Linked DNA regions of Homo sapiens: region 2 is linked to region 1. Evidence: promoter capture Hi-C in human tissues and cell types (Jung and others, 2019). All regions are on one chromosome and are shown on one strand. Each heading gives the region's core, a stretch centred on a gene start or on the middle of the fragment in contact. The rest is flanking DNA. Distances are from core to core; before and after follow the strand shown. Region 1 holds the start of PRR14L (proline rich 14 like). Region 2 overlaps MORC2 (MORC family CW-type zinc finger 2).

Region 1 (6,095 bases), core at 1,467-3,966:
TCCCAGCAGTCTTAACTGCTGGTCTCTTCATCAGGAAGCCAGGGTCCCTTATCCTGCTCTCACATACTAGATGCAGAGTCTTGAGTGTGTTAAGTGAAAGTTAAGTGAACTTTCCCGGGCTTGTTTTTCACATGTTCATCAAAATAAGCTCAAAGGGTCTTGTCACCCATAAATATCCTAAGACTCCAAAGAATAACTTTTCTATTTCCCTTTGTTTCAGAAAAGCACACCTACAGACACCAACAATGGTGGTATAGAGCTCCCACTAATCCCCTCTGCAATTACTCAACGGCGTTTGAGGTAATTTAAGAACACTTTACATACAAAAAAAGATGGTAAGCGTTTCTTTAGTGTGCTTTCAGGTAATTTGGCAGTGTTAATTCCTATCCCACCAAAAAAAAAAAAAAACAAAAACAGGAAAACAAACCTACCAGTGAAGGATTAACATTGTTGCTCTCAATCTCATCAGAATACATTTTATAACACTAAAAACCTGACAAAGTGGCAACTTTTAGTCATTCAAACACTCCCCAAAACAAAAGTTCTGGAGGTACAAAATTTACAGCAACAAGCAAAAAAAAAACAGAACATAAAACCGTGTGCCTCAATAATCCCGAATCTGAAAGTCTCCCCTCCCTTTAATTCCAATGCATAGGGGCTGTTAATAACACTAGGCGCTGCCATGCTTGCTTCAGGAACAATACTCACAATAATGACCAGGCCCTCAGAAGCTCACAACACTCTTTTCACCTTGAGAAAGGGGCTTTCTTTTCCAAAGATTCAGACATTGTAGCCATTCCCTCCAAGAGGGAATTTGGAGAATGGGCCTCTTCTTGAGAAACAAAGAAAGAAGAGTTTTTTAATAAAATCCCAAGACAAACCAAAAGTGAGGCAGGGAAGTTCATACACTAAACAGGGCAAGCGCTTCAACATGGAGCGTGCAGAAAATCTCTAAAGCATCAAGGACTATTTCCCATTTCCTCCCTTTAATAACATCCAGAAAAAGGATCCCTGTCTCCACGTAAGGAGTGAAACTGGAAAATGCTCCTGATTTCTACTGACAGAGGCTTCCTGTATAAAAGATTTTCCTCTGTTTTATAAAGGAAAAGGAGAAAAGAAACAATCTGTGTCATTTTCCATATACAAGAGGGAAGAGATCTCTCCTCAAAGGTATAGAGTCTTCATTTTCTTGGGAGAGCAAAAGACAGGAAGAATATGGAATCGCCCACTTGGGGGGGTGGGAAGGATGTGCAGATGGAAGATTTTTTGTCACTACAGTAAGTCAGGGAAGTGGGAGAGGGCATCTCTAACCAGTCAGGAAGAAGTGATACCTTCTGTGGACAAAGGAAGTGCTGGCGTCTGGCATCAGGTCTCACTTTCTCTTAAGAGCACAGACCTGTTTCCAAAAGCTAAGTCTTTTTTTTACTGATTATTTTCAGTGAGGCCCTCTTTGTTAATTTGGGAAAGTATTGAACAGCAGGATCTAAGGGGACTGGAAGTGTCTCTTTCTCTAACCCCTAAGTGGGAGGGAGTCTTCCACTCCAGTGAGAAAGGATGGTTGAACACTTGTGATGGAGGCTGCGAGGGGCATGCATGGAAAAATATGCTTCTCTGTGCAAGATATTAGTTTTCTTTTTTAACAGATTAAGTAATAGTAATAGCAACAGCTTACCAAAAGCTTACTATATAACTAGTATTTACACAAATGCTCCCTTAGCCCGCATGACAATTCTAAGAAAACAGAACCCAAATTGGAGATGGACTGAGATTCAGACAAGTTAAACAAATAGTCAAGGTCACAAAGACGTTAAGTGAGAGACCCAGGTTTGCAACGATTACACTCCAAAAGCCATGCTCTTAATAATGCAAGGGAAAGGAGCTCACTGCACACCAAGAGGCTTAAAGGGAAGAAGAGAAGCGAGGGTCTCTCTGTGGACATCACGAGGGGAGAGGGAGAAAGGTTGATTTCTGATACCATAAAGTAAAATTTCAAGGTCTTCCTCTCCGTATCTTGGGGTACAGGCGAAAAATAAAGGAGGAAGGTAAGTCTCTTTCTTACTGGGAAGAAAGATCCCCTCTGTCACTTTCAGGCAAGTTGGGTCTCACTCTTCACCTGGGTGACGCTGACCAAAGTTGGGGGAAAGGTCTCATTTAGGGGTTATCTTTTACTCCTCCTCAGGATAAGTTCAGAATCCCCCTCGAACCCTGGGAGTGGGTCTCCCTCTGCTGACCAACGGATGAGCGCTAAGAAAGAGCGTACGCCTCCGATAAGGGGCGTCGTCCTCTCCGAGGAGATAAGTTGGGGGATCCCTGTTGTATCGAGGTTGAAGAGGAGTCTCTCTCCCGCGTCGGAGCCATGACTCGGAGAAGCCGCTTTTCTCTAGCGACGCGGGGCCTGGTCTCCTCCCTCTCCCTGGGTCGTTCCGCCGCCCACAGGGCAGCCTTGGTTCCTTTCCGCGCCCCGAGAGGGCGGGGGGCCTGGACTCCCCTTTAGCAGCACCACCCGGCGGAGGGTCCCTTTAGGGCGGAGTGGGGCGGGGCGGCTACGCCCGAAGCCTTCCAGTCCCGGCCTCTTACCCTGAGACCTCCTCCGCGGCCCGCGCTTGCCCAGCCAGCTCAGCCCCTGCAGCTGCAGCCCCGTCGTCGCCAGGTCTACCTGAGCCTACGGAGCCGACAGAGGCCGGGGGCGCTCCGGCCGCCGCCACCTCTTCGTCTCTATGGTCCCCCTGCACTTCCTCATCCGGGGCCCGAGCCAGCCATGCGGACTCGCCCAAATCCCGCCCCCGCACCGCGCGCGCGCACTCCAAGGGAAGGCTCTTCCTGATTCTGACCTCCCGCCCTCTGCTAGCCCCAGCCTCCCTCAACCCCGCCCCTGCGGCTCAAACTCTTAAAGGGAAACACAACTTTTGGTTCTGCTCCTGCTGAGCCACAGGACCCAGTGCCGGCCTTCGCTGCTGTCACCCTGTTCCAGTCCACCGTTTTTCTAGTCTGGACGGCTACAATTCTAAGGGCCTGCCTGCTTCCACTCTGGCAGCCCGAGAGATCTTATTCTACTGGAAAGAGTGTTTTGGGTCATGACACTCCTCTGCTTCTTCTAATCACACTGACCACTAAATAAATGGCACCTCTGCCTCCAGTTGGTTACAGAACCTTGTTTTATTTTCTTCATAGCTTTAACACTAGCTGAAATTTCTATGTCTCATCTCTTTATTGACTTGTTTATCATTTATCTTCCTCCACCTTGTCTGTTTTGTTCATCACTTAATGCTCAGCACCAAGAGCAGTGTCCGGCACAAAACTAGACGCTCAATGGACATTTGAAGGAAGGAAGAAATGTTTATCCAGTGGAAGAATTGAGGTCCAGATAATGAAATCGACTTGCCCCAAATAATACGGCTTTGTGTTAAAAAATAGAAATCGACCAGGCGCGGTGTCTCACGCCTGTAATCCAGCACTTTGGGAGGCGAAAGCGGGAGAAGCACTTCAGCCCAGAAGTTTGAGACCAGCCTGGGCAACATAGTGAGACATCGTTTCTGCCAAAAAACAAACAGCTGGGTCTGGTGATGTGTGCCTGTAATCCCAGCTACTCTGGAGGCTGAGGCAGGAAGATCACTTGAGGCTGGAAGGTTGAGGCTGCAGTGAGCAGTGATAGTGCCACTGCACTCCAGCCTGGATGACACAGCAAGACTCTTTCTCAAAACAAAACAAAAATTGCTCAGGTGTTGATGCACCTGTGCTCCTAGCTACTGGGGAGCCTGAAGCAGGAGGATCGTTTGAGCCCAGGAGTTTGAAGCTGCATTGAGCTATGATGGTGCCCCCACTGCACTCCAGCCTGGGCAACAAAACAAGACACTGTCTCAAAAAAAAAAAAAAAAAAAAAAATTGAATGCTTCAAAGTTTCGTTTCTTTCTTTCTTTTTTTTTTTTTTGAGACGGGGCCACGTTCTGACACCAGGCTGGAGTGCAGTGGTAGGATCTCGGCTCACTGCAACCTCTGCCTCCCAGGTTCAAGAGATTCTCCAGCCTCAGCCTCCTGAGTAGCTGGGATTACAGGCGCATGCTACCATGCCCAGCTAATTTTTGTATTTTTAGTAGAGACAGGGTTTCACCATGTTGGCCAGGCTGGTCTTGAACTCCTGACCTCGAGTGATCCGCCTGCCTCGGCCTCCCAAAGTGCTGGGATTACAGGCGTGAGCCACCACTCCTGGCCTTCAGAGTTTCTTTATGAGAGTTGCCAAATTAAAAAGTTAAAATATTTGCCTTTTGGCCGGGCGTGGTGGCTGAAGCCTATAATCCCAGCACTTTGGGAGGCCAAGGCGGGCGGATCACGAGGTCAGGAGATCAAGACCATCCTGGCTAATACGGTGAAACCCCCTCTCTACTAAAAATTATAAACAATTAGCCAGGCGTGGTGGCGGGCACCTGTAGTCCCAGCTACTCGGGAGGCTGAGGCGGGAGAATGGCATGAACCCGGGAGGCAGAGGTTGCAGTGAGCCGAGATCGGGCCACTGCACTCCAGCCTGGGCGACAGAGGGAGACTCCGTCTCAAAAAAAAAAAAAAATTTGCCTTTTTAAGATGTCCCATTATGGACATCTCTCAGGAGAAGGAATCAAATTCCCTTGAGGGCTAAGAAGAGAGAATCCTATTAGCTTCCCCAGGGATGGAAGAATGTCCCATCAACCACCATTGCTAAAGACAAAAACTATCTTGGGGGATCTAGGTGTATCTCCTGAAGTGGCAACATAGAAACATTTTTTAACATAACATTGTTATTCTTAAAAAATTTTGTAACTGTTGCAATCCACTGTATCACATATGTTTTATTACAAGATAAACAATTTCAGCCAGGAGTGGTGGCTTGGCCTGTAGTCCCAGTCCCTTGGGAGGCTGAGGCAGAAGAATCACTTGAGCCCAGAAAATTGAGGTTGCAGTGAGCTATGATAGAACCACTGCACTGCAGCCTTGGCAACAGAGCTAGACCTGGTCTTGGGGGAAAAAAAAGGCCCGGCTACAGTGATTGGTGCCTGTAATCCCAGAACTTTGGGAGGCCAAGGCGGACGGATTACTTGAGCTCTGGAGTTTGAGACCAGCCTGGGCCACATGGCAAAACCCCGTCTCTACAAAAAATACAAAAATTAGCTGAGCATGCACCTGTAATCCCAGCTACTAGGAGGCTGAGGTGGGAGGATCGCATGAGCCAGGCAGGCAGAGATGGCAGTGAGACGGGATCATGCCACTGCACTCCAGCCTGGGTGAGGGTGACCTCATCTCAAAACAAAAACAAAAAAACAAACAAACAAAAAAATTGCAATTACTTAACACTTGCATTATTTACCTAACTTCTCCTGAGTCCCAACATAAAGGCATCCATGCTTAAGAACGTTGCTTGTCCTGTCCCAGGGTCCCCTTGGTCCACTGCAGAATCTTTCACTACAGTGTAACATGTTTTTTCTTTCAACATTTTTAAGTTTTCCAAATCCGTAAGAAATGGGCACTGTTAGTATTAAAGATATAAAGAAATTTAAGACAAGTGCTGTGTCGTTTAGATTTAGCAGTCAGTGTGATTAGAAGCAGCAGAGGAGAGGCGTGACCCAAGACACCGATTCTAGTTATAAGGTCTCTCTGGCTTCAAGAGGGGAAGCAGGGAGTCCCTATCGAGTTGCTGCCGCTCAGGTCAGAAACGGTGGACTGGACTAGGGGGCGGGGGTATCAGTGGCAGCAGGCGGAGCTGGCAATTGTCAGGAGTCCTTGGCCAGAGCCTGACCCAGCCCACCCAGCTCTCTGGTTTTCTGCTTGGAGAGAAAGATATCCTGACAGACGCGAGTTTAGGCAGTGCCCTGGGTATGACCAAAGGATGTTGGTTAAAGGCCCCGTTCTGGGAACGGGTCAGGATTCGTCCTTGCTTCCTTCTGAAGGGTTTTGTGTCCTCAGGCTGTTTCCTGGTTTGTGAAATAGGATAGTATCTGCCTCCTGCATCCATCAGGTAATAGGGATGCAATGATTACATAAGGACTATGAAGCCACGGCAGCCATTCTTATTAATAACCTGAGGGGCGCAGAACGTCGTTTAGAGTTTGCAAGGGTTTGAAAAGCCC
Region 2 (6,095 bases), core at 2,536-5,035, 800 kb before region 1:
CTGAAAGGGCAGACACAAGAGAAAGTGAAAAGTTTGCATTTCTTTCCCAGGGTCCTCAAAGTCAAAGGTCTGAGCCTTGTTAAATCCAAGCAGGGGTGTGTATCTGCTGAAAACCTCTCTCCAAGGAAATTCACCACCATGAAGCACATGGAGGCACAGCTTTGCCTGGCCTGTTGGTACCTCTATCACTGTGACCTATGTTCTATTCCCAGAATGTGGTAAGACAGCTAGCAGAGGCATCTGTAGGTCCAGCTCGAGAATGTTGTGCAAGCTGATAAATACAACGCCAAGAGACAGGTAATCTGATTGACTTAAGATTGCCTTTCAGATCCTATCTCCCATGTTAGGACAAGACCTGGCAAATACATTAGTAGAATTAAGCCTGAGATGTTGCAACAGACTTCTTACTCCCCAGGTGGATCTTCTAGACATAACATTGGAGGCAACAGAAAAACAAGTTCACACAATAAGTATTTTGTAAAAATGGTTACATCGCACCCCCCCACCCCCCAAAACAATAATCTCATCACTTACTTGGATCCATTCCTGCTCCATCATCCAAAAAGCAAAGCATAAATCCTCCTCGAAGGTCCTCTCGTCTTTCTGTAAAAGAAGCAGCTGCCATTACTGGGCCGTTACCCACCACAGGGTGGCAACATGCCTATGATCAGAAGGCAGATCAATGTGAAGCTTGGTCCAAAAAGGTCAGGTCAAGCCTAAACTTTCTACGCTGGTGTGAATTAAACTTCAGGGTCCTTGAGGTTGCAAATTCCCATCCAAGGTTCTCCAATGTTTTCTAGATCATGACAAAGCTTGGGAGAACCTTTGAAGGCAGGAATATCTGGTCCAGCATCTAATCATACCCACTACCACTGAATATGCACATACCTCACACATATCTCAATCATCCTATCCTTCTGCTCACTCCACCTGGATTACTATCACTTCTGCCCTATGCCATAGACCCCAAGCACTAAAGTACTCCAACTACCACACACTGTACTTTATCAATACTGCTCAAACTCAACAGGATGCCTCCTTTGTGAATTAAGTCTGGGGTATCCTTCAAAGTGATGAAACCAGACATGGTATGGGCACAGCAGTGGAAGCTGCTATCTAAAAGATGAAGTACTGTGTCTATACATGACCATCCCTAGGCTGACTGGCATTCTGGGCTATCTGCATTTACTGTCATATCCCCTGCTAGCTATGGTCCTTGAAAGGGCTCCCCATCCCAACAGTGAGAAGGCACATGGTACAACGTGGAGGTGCCTTGTTCCTAGCTGGACCTGCCTGATGGGAAGAAGGAATGGTCCTTTGACAATAAGATGCACAGCAGCTGTGGTGGGGTTTCCTGGCCAACAGAAAAGGAACACAACAAACTACGGCTGCCATTCTAGTGAAAAGAACGTCTTCTCTCAGCAGTTGTCTTCTGCAGCAGAAAGTGGTTAACTGAAAGTGGTCTGGGTCCAAGCATGTCATGGTCAATGGAGAAGCGATTCCCAAATATGGAAACAGGCTATACTAGCTTCCAAGGTGCCTTTTGACCCAATGATGAGGACTAGGTGAGCAAAAGAGAAACCAGCCTTGGAATCAAGGAAGTTGGTAGACACAAAGAAGAGAAGGATGTAAGGCAGAGGTATAGGGAGGAGACCCACACAAGCCAAGCAAGCCAACTTCCCATATAGATGCTATTCAGTCTACTGACTGGCACAGGGATAAAGGTAGCATTTCTAAGAGGAAAGAGGTCTGTGTAAGGTATTACAAGGGCAAGCCCAAGGCTGCTCTGCAGCCTGGTCCCTGATGATTTCGGAATCTCCCCCAAGCTTCAGTTAACCAATTTTGTACAACTATCTAAGCTGAGAAATCTGTTTTAAATGCTCTTTGTCCTTTCTTCAGGCTAAAAATTCAAGTGAGTAGGGACTGCCCTCTGTCAAATAGACTTATTAATGTAAATTAAAATGCTATTTTTTTTTTTTTTGAAATGGAGTCTCACTCTGTCGCCCAGGCTGGAGTGCAACGGCGTGATCTCGGCTCACTGCAACCTCTGCCTCCCAGGTTCAAGCGATTCTCCTGCCTCAGCCTCCAGAGTAGCTTCTGTAAGGCTATAAACCACAGAGATTTTCAAGTACCACTCAGTGTTCAGGAAGCTGAACATTAATTACAAGTGCTTCTTGAAAGTACAAGGGTGAGGATCTTCCTGGAAGTACTATTGGTTAGATAAAATCTCTCCTGGTGGCAGTGCCTCTAATCAGAGTCTGGGGAATCCAAATGAGACGTGGCAATCAAGAATAAGTACAATAAAAGTCCAAAAAGGCTTCAAAATTTCCATCTGGAGGAAGCCAAGTGTCATAAGGAGACTCAAACTGGGTCAGGTACAGAGAATGGTAAAAGCAGCATTCTAAACCTAGCCAAGAGCCATTTGCTGTACACTACAGCCGCAAAATGTGCATGAAGACTCTGCTTTGGGATCTAGAAATTGATTCAAGCCAAGCACCTCTGAAAAGTCCCCAAGGACTACTGGCATTCTTTGGACACTGCCTAAGAAGTTACTTTCTAGGCTCTTGTGTTAGGATAGAACTCTTAGGCTGCTTTAGCACACAATCATCACTTAACAGTGGGGCTGGTATCCTTTTCTGGCTCAAGGACTTCATTTCAAAGCTTTTTCGTGTAGTTTAAAGGGTAAGAGATGACACTGGGGGGATCCTCCTGGCTACATAGTAACTGACAGCCTATAAATGGCTAGTAGTGTCTAGGTCCATGGCCACATGCAATACTGCCTCAGGGCCAAGAAAGACTAAGACAGCATTGACTTCTTCAACTTTGTAAACAGACAGTGTGGTCTCTTCACCTTGTTCAAATGCTTATGCCAATCACTTGTTTATTTAATGACTACTTAGTGATCAGCTCTTCTGTGCCTGGTTATGATGAGGACAAGAGCAGTGAACAGTACATATGCGATCACTGTCTTCATGGAGCTTACATCTAATGGATTCTACTGCCTGCAGCAGATAAGCTAGGAAGTAAAGGACAGGAGGGTTTAAGCTGAAGGAAGCTTAGAAAAGTATTGGCTAGAGCAAAATGTAGTATGGGTAAGAATTATCCAAAGAGCTTGTGAAAATAGATTCTGGGCTCCCCCTGGATAGTCTGGGTACGTCTGAGGTGGGGCATTCGCATTTCTAACAAGTTCCAAGATGATATTGACAACATCTGTGGATGGACCACCTTTTGAGAAGCACTAAACTAGAGCAAGCAAGAACTCGAAGGCGTCCCTGCTCAAAACTATCTCCTCATATATTCCACCATAGAGATAGATTCCTATCACCTGATATTTAATCAGTCAACTGAGTGATATCTGAAGCCTCCAAAGATAAAGGAAGGGGAATTCTGGATAAAGAAGAGTCTAAGCAGCTGGGGGTTGTATGTTCCCCGCCTCCCATCACACATCTTGAAAGTAAGAGAAGGCAAAGCCGAACTGCCTGCTTTGCAGCTGTGCTTCATATCCTGGGAACAGCTCTGTAAGACTGTCAAAGCCAATCTGAAAGTCTGCACATCTCCCAGAATGGCCAAGTCTGGCTTCTGCAAGCCAGACATTCTTCATCTAACTCCCACTGGGAAGAATAAAGAAAGAAAGCAGGAAAAGACAAGAGATGTCAAATGGAGCTATACATCCAAAAGTCAAAGGTGATAAAATAATGGTGTCCCCAGGAGAGGCTGCAATAAAATGACATCCAAGTTCTTCATCATACTCTGCAATCTGTTTGAGCAGTATTAATTGCAGTTTCATTTGCTCCAATTTTCCATGTGTTAATCATTGCCCTGGCATCACGAAAAGGATCTTTCTTCCAAGGAGGTGGCACTACCTACCCCAGAAGGTCAAGAAAGTCAACAAAAACAGTCTGCTTATGACAGGCATATTATGGTCTATAATAATAATCCAACTAATAATAATATGCTTTGGGTAAATGAACACCTCTACACTTTGAGAGGCTGGCTCCTTTTTTGCCCTTTTTAGGTTTAAAAATGGTCTTTAAATGTGACTTTGTGGTGACTTCAAACTACATCTGATGTTTGGAAAGATTTCCAAGTCCAGTTATCAATCAGTTTCAGAAGTGGAGATAAGAAAATACTTTCCCCCATGAACTAACAACAAGAACTTTATAGTATTAAGATTATTACTGGCCAAGCGCATCGGCTCAGCCTGTAAGCCCAGCACTTTGGGGGGCCAAGGCAGTCAGATTACTTGAGCTCAGGAGTTTGAGACCAGCCTGGGCAACATGGTGAAAAAATATATATACAAAAATTAACCAGGTATGGTGGTGTGTGCCTGTAGTCTCAGCTGCTCGGGAGGCTGAGGTAGGAGGATCACTTGAGCCCGAGAGGTGGAGGTTGCAGTGAGCCTAGATAGCACACTGCATTCCAGCCTGGGTGAAAAAAAAAGATTCCACGGACTGATTTCTCCTGTTGAATGTGTTAACAAGGCCCTGTGGTAGAAAAGTGTAGGGTTAAAGATCCCTTAGCCAAGAATCCCAATCTCCTGGTACTTGAAGTAAATCAAGTCTTTTTCCAAAATGCTATGGTGCTTAGTGCTTCTATCACACCATTTAATCCTTAACTGTCTTGACTGTTCCCTCAAGATCTAGTTATTGTTCTCTAATTATCCATAGTGCATTAATTGTCTCTCCAATTAAAGACTAAGTTCTTAAAGCAAAGACCCCCATCTCCTCCTCTCTGGACATTTCCCAAAGCATAACAGGAGTTGTACTGAGCACAGAATAAAGACACACTGGGTCCTTTTTCATTTAAATTGAAATCCAACTTCATTCTGAGTGTCAGGAACTAAACTTCCTTGCTGAAATTTACCCACCAAATGTAGTAGGAGACAGCAGAGATGATCTTTTTTAAAAAACGTCTTCCAAGTAGACTTGACCATTACGATTTGTACCTTCAACATCACTTGGAGAAGAGGCCCATTCTCTGCTTTAGCATCTGTGCATTGATTAAATAAGCCCTATTTTTCCAGCGGTAGCTGTTACCATTCCTGAGAAAGCACACTCAGATGTAAGATACATGCTTTGGCTTGGAAAGGCACCTCCATCTGGCCTGAGCATTTTTTTTTTTTTTTTTTTTTTTGAGACGGAGCTTCGCTCTTGTTGCCCAGGCTGGAGTGCAATGGTGCGATCTTGGCTCATGGCAACTTCCACCTCCTGGGTTTAAGCGATTCTCCTGCTTCAGCCTCCCGAGTAGCTGGGATTAGAGGCATGCACCACCACACCCGGCTAATTTTGTATTTTTAGTAGAGACAGGGTTTCTCCATGTTGGTCAGGCTGGTCTCAAACACCCGACCTAAGGTGGTCCGCCTGCCTCGGCTTCCCAAAGTGTTGGGATTACAGGTGTGAGCCACCACGCCCAGCCTTGGCCTGAGCATTTAGTAATCATCTTCTAACATTCTTTTCCTGTGTGCCCCTATTTCCTGTTACTTTCTTCTAGAGAGAAAAGAAGCCTTATTTTTACCACTTTGGCAGAGCCTTTTGAACAAAAGGCTTTCAGAATTGAAGCAGTACAGCTGACTTTTAGCTGCTCTGAGGATTTTCTTTGCTCCAAAGTATAGCAGACATGAGAAATTCATCAAATCTGGGGCAGATTCTTCATAATTATATGACATTAGTGGTTCTGAGAATTACTACTTAGTTGTGTGCTTGTTCCCATTCATCAAAAGGGTCCATGAAGAGGGGTTATTTCATTCCCATGTAAACATACAGACTTCTCAGAACCTAGTTCATGCTACTCAAAATATCACCTCACACATTTCAGAGGATTTCAGAAAAGTCTGTCAGAAAAAAACACATCACACTAGTCGAATTGTATTTAAAAGCTGTCTTCCGGCCAGGTGTGGTGGCTCACGCCTGTAATCCCAGCACTTTGGGAGGCCGAGGCAGGCAGATCACCTGAGGTCATGAGTTTGAGACCAGCCTGGCCGACGTGGTGAAACCCCGTCGCTACTAAAAATACAAAAAATTAGCCGGGTGTGGTGGTGGGCGCCTGTAATCCCAGCTACTTGGGAGTCTGAGGCAGAATTGCTTGAACCTGGGAGA

Evidence for each region. The method cuts DNA at HindIII sites, captures the fragments that hold promoters and counts their contacts. A contact is called where the count stands out against the background at its distance.
Region 2: a fragment that was not itself captured here is called in contact with the fragment with the promoter of PRR14L in region 1 in 1 of the 25 tissues and cell types used here (dorsolateral prefrontal cortex).

Annotation. Positions count from the first base shown.
Region 1 is chr22:31,747,416-31,753,510 of GRCh38, forward strand. It overlaps PRR14L (proline rich 14 like), which reads right to left and starts at 2,717. Exons shown (of 9, transcript NM_173566.3): 1 at 2,578-2,717. RefSeq lists enhancers at 1,727-2,359, 2,599-3,158, 2,648-2,942. The HindIII fragment of the contact is 11,409 bases long and covers 1-6,095 here.
Region 2 is chr22:30,949,843-30,955,937 of GRCh38, forward strand. MORC2 (MORC family CW-type zinc finger 2) reads right to left here. Exons shown (of 26, transcript NM_001303256.3): 4 at 535-603. Among named protein-coding and RNA genes, the nearest start is that of MORC2, 16 kb to the right of the region's middle. The HindIII fragment of the contact is 6,988 bases long and covers 292-6,095 here.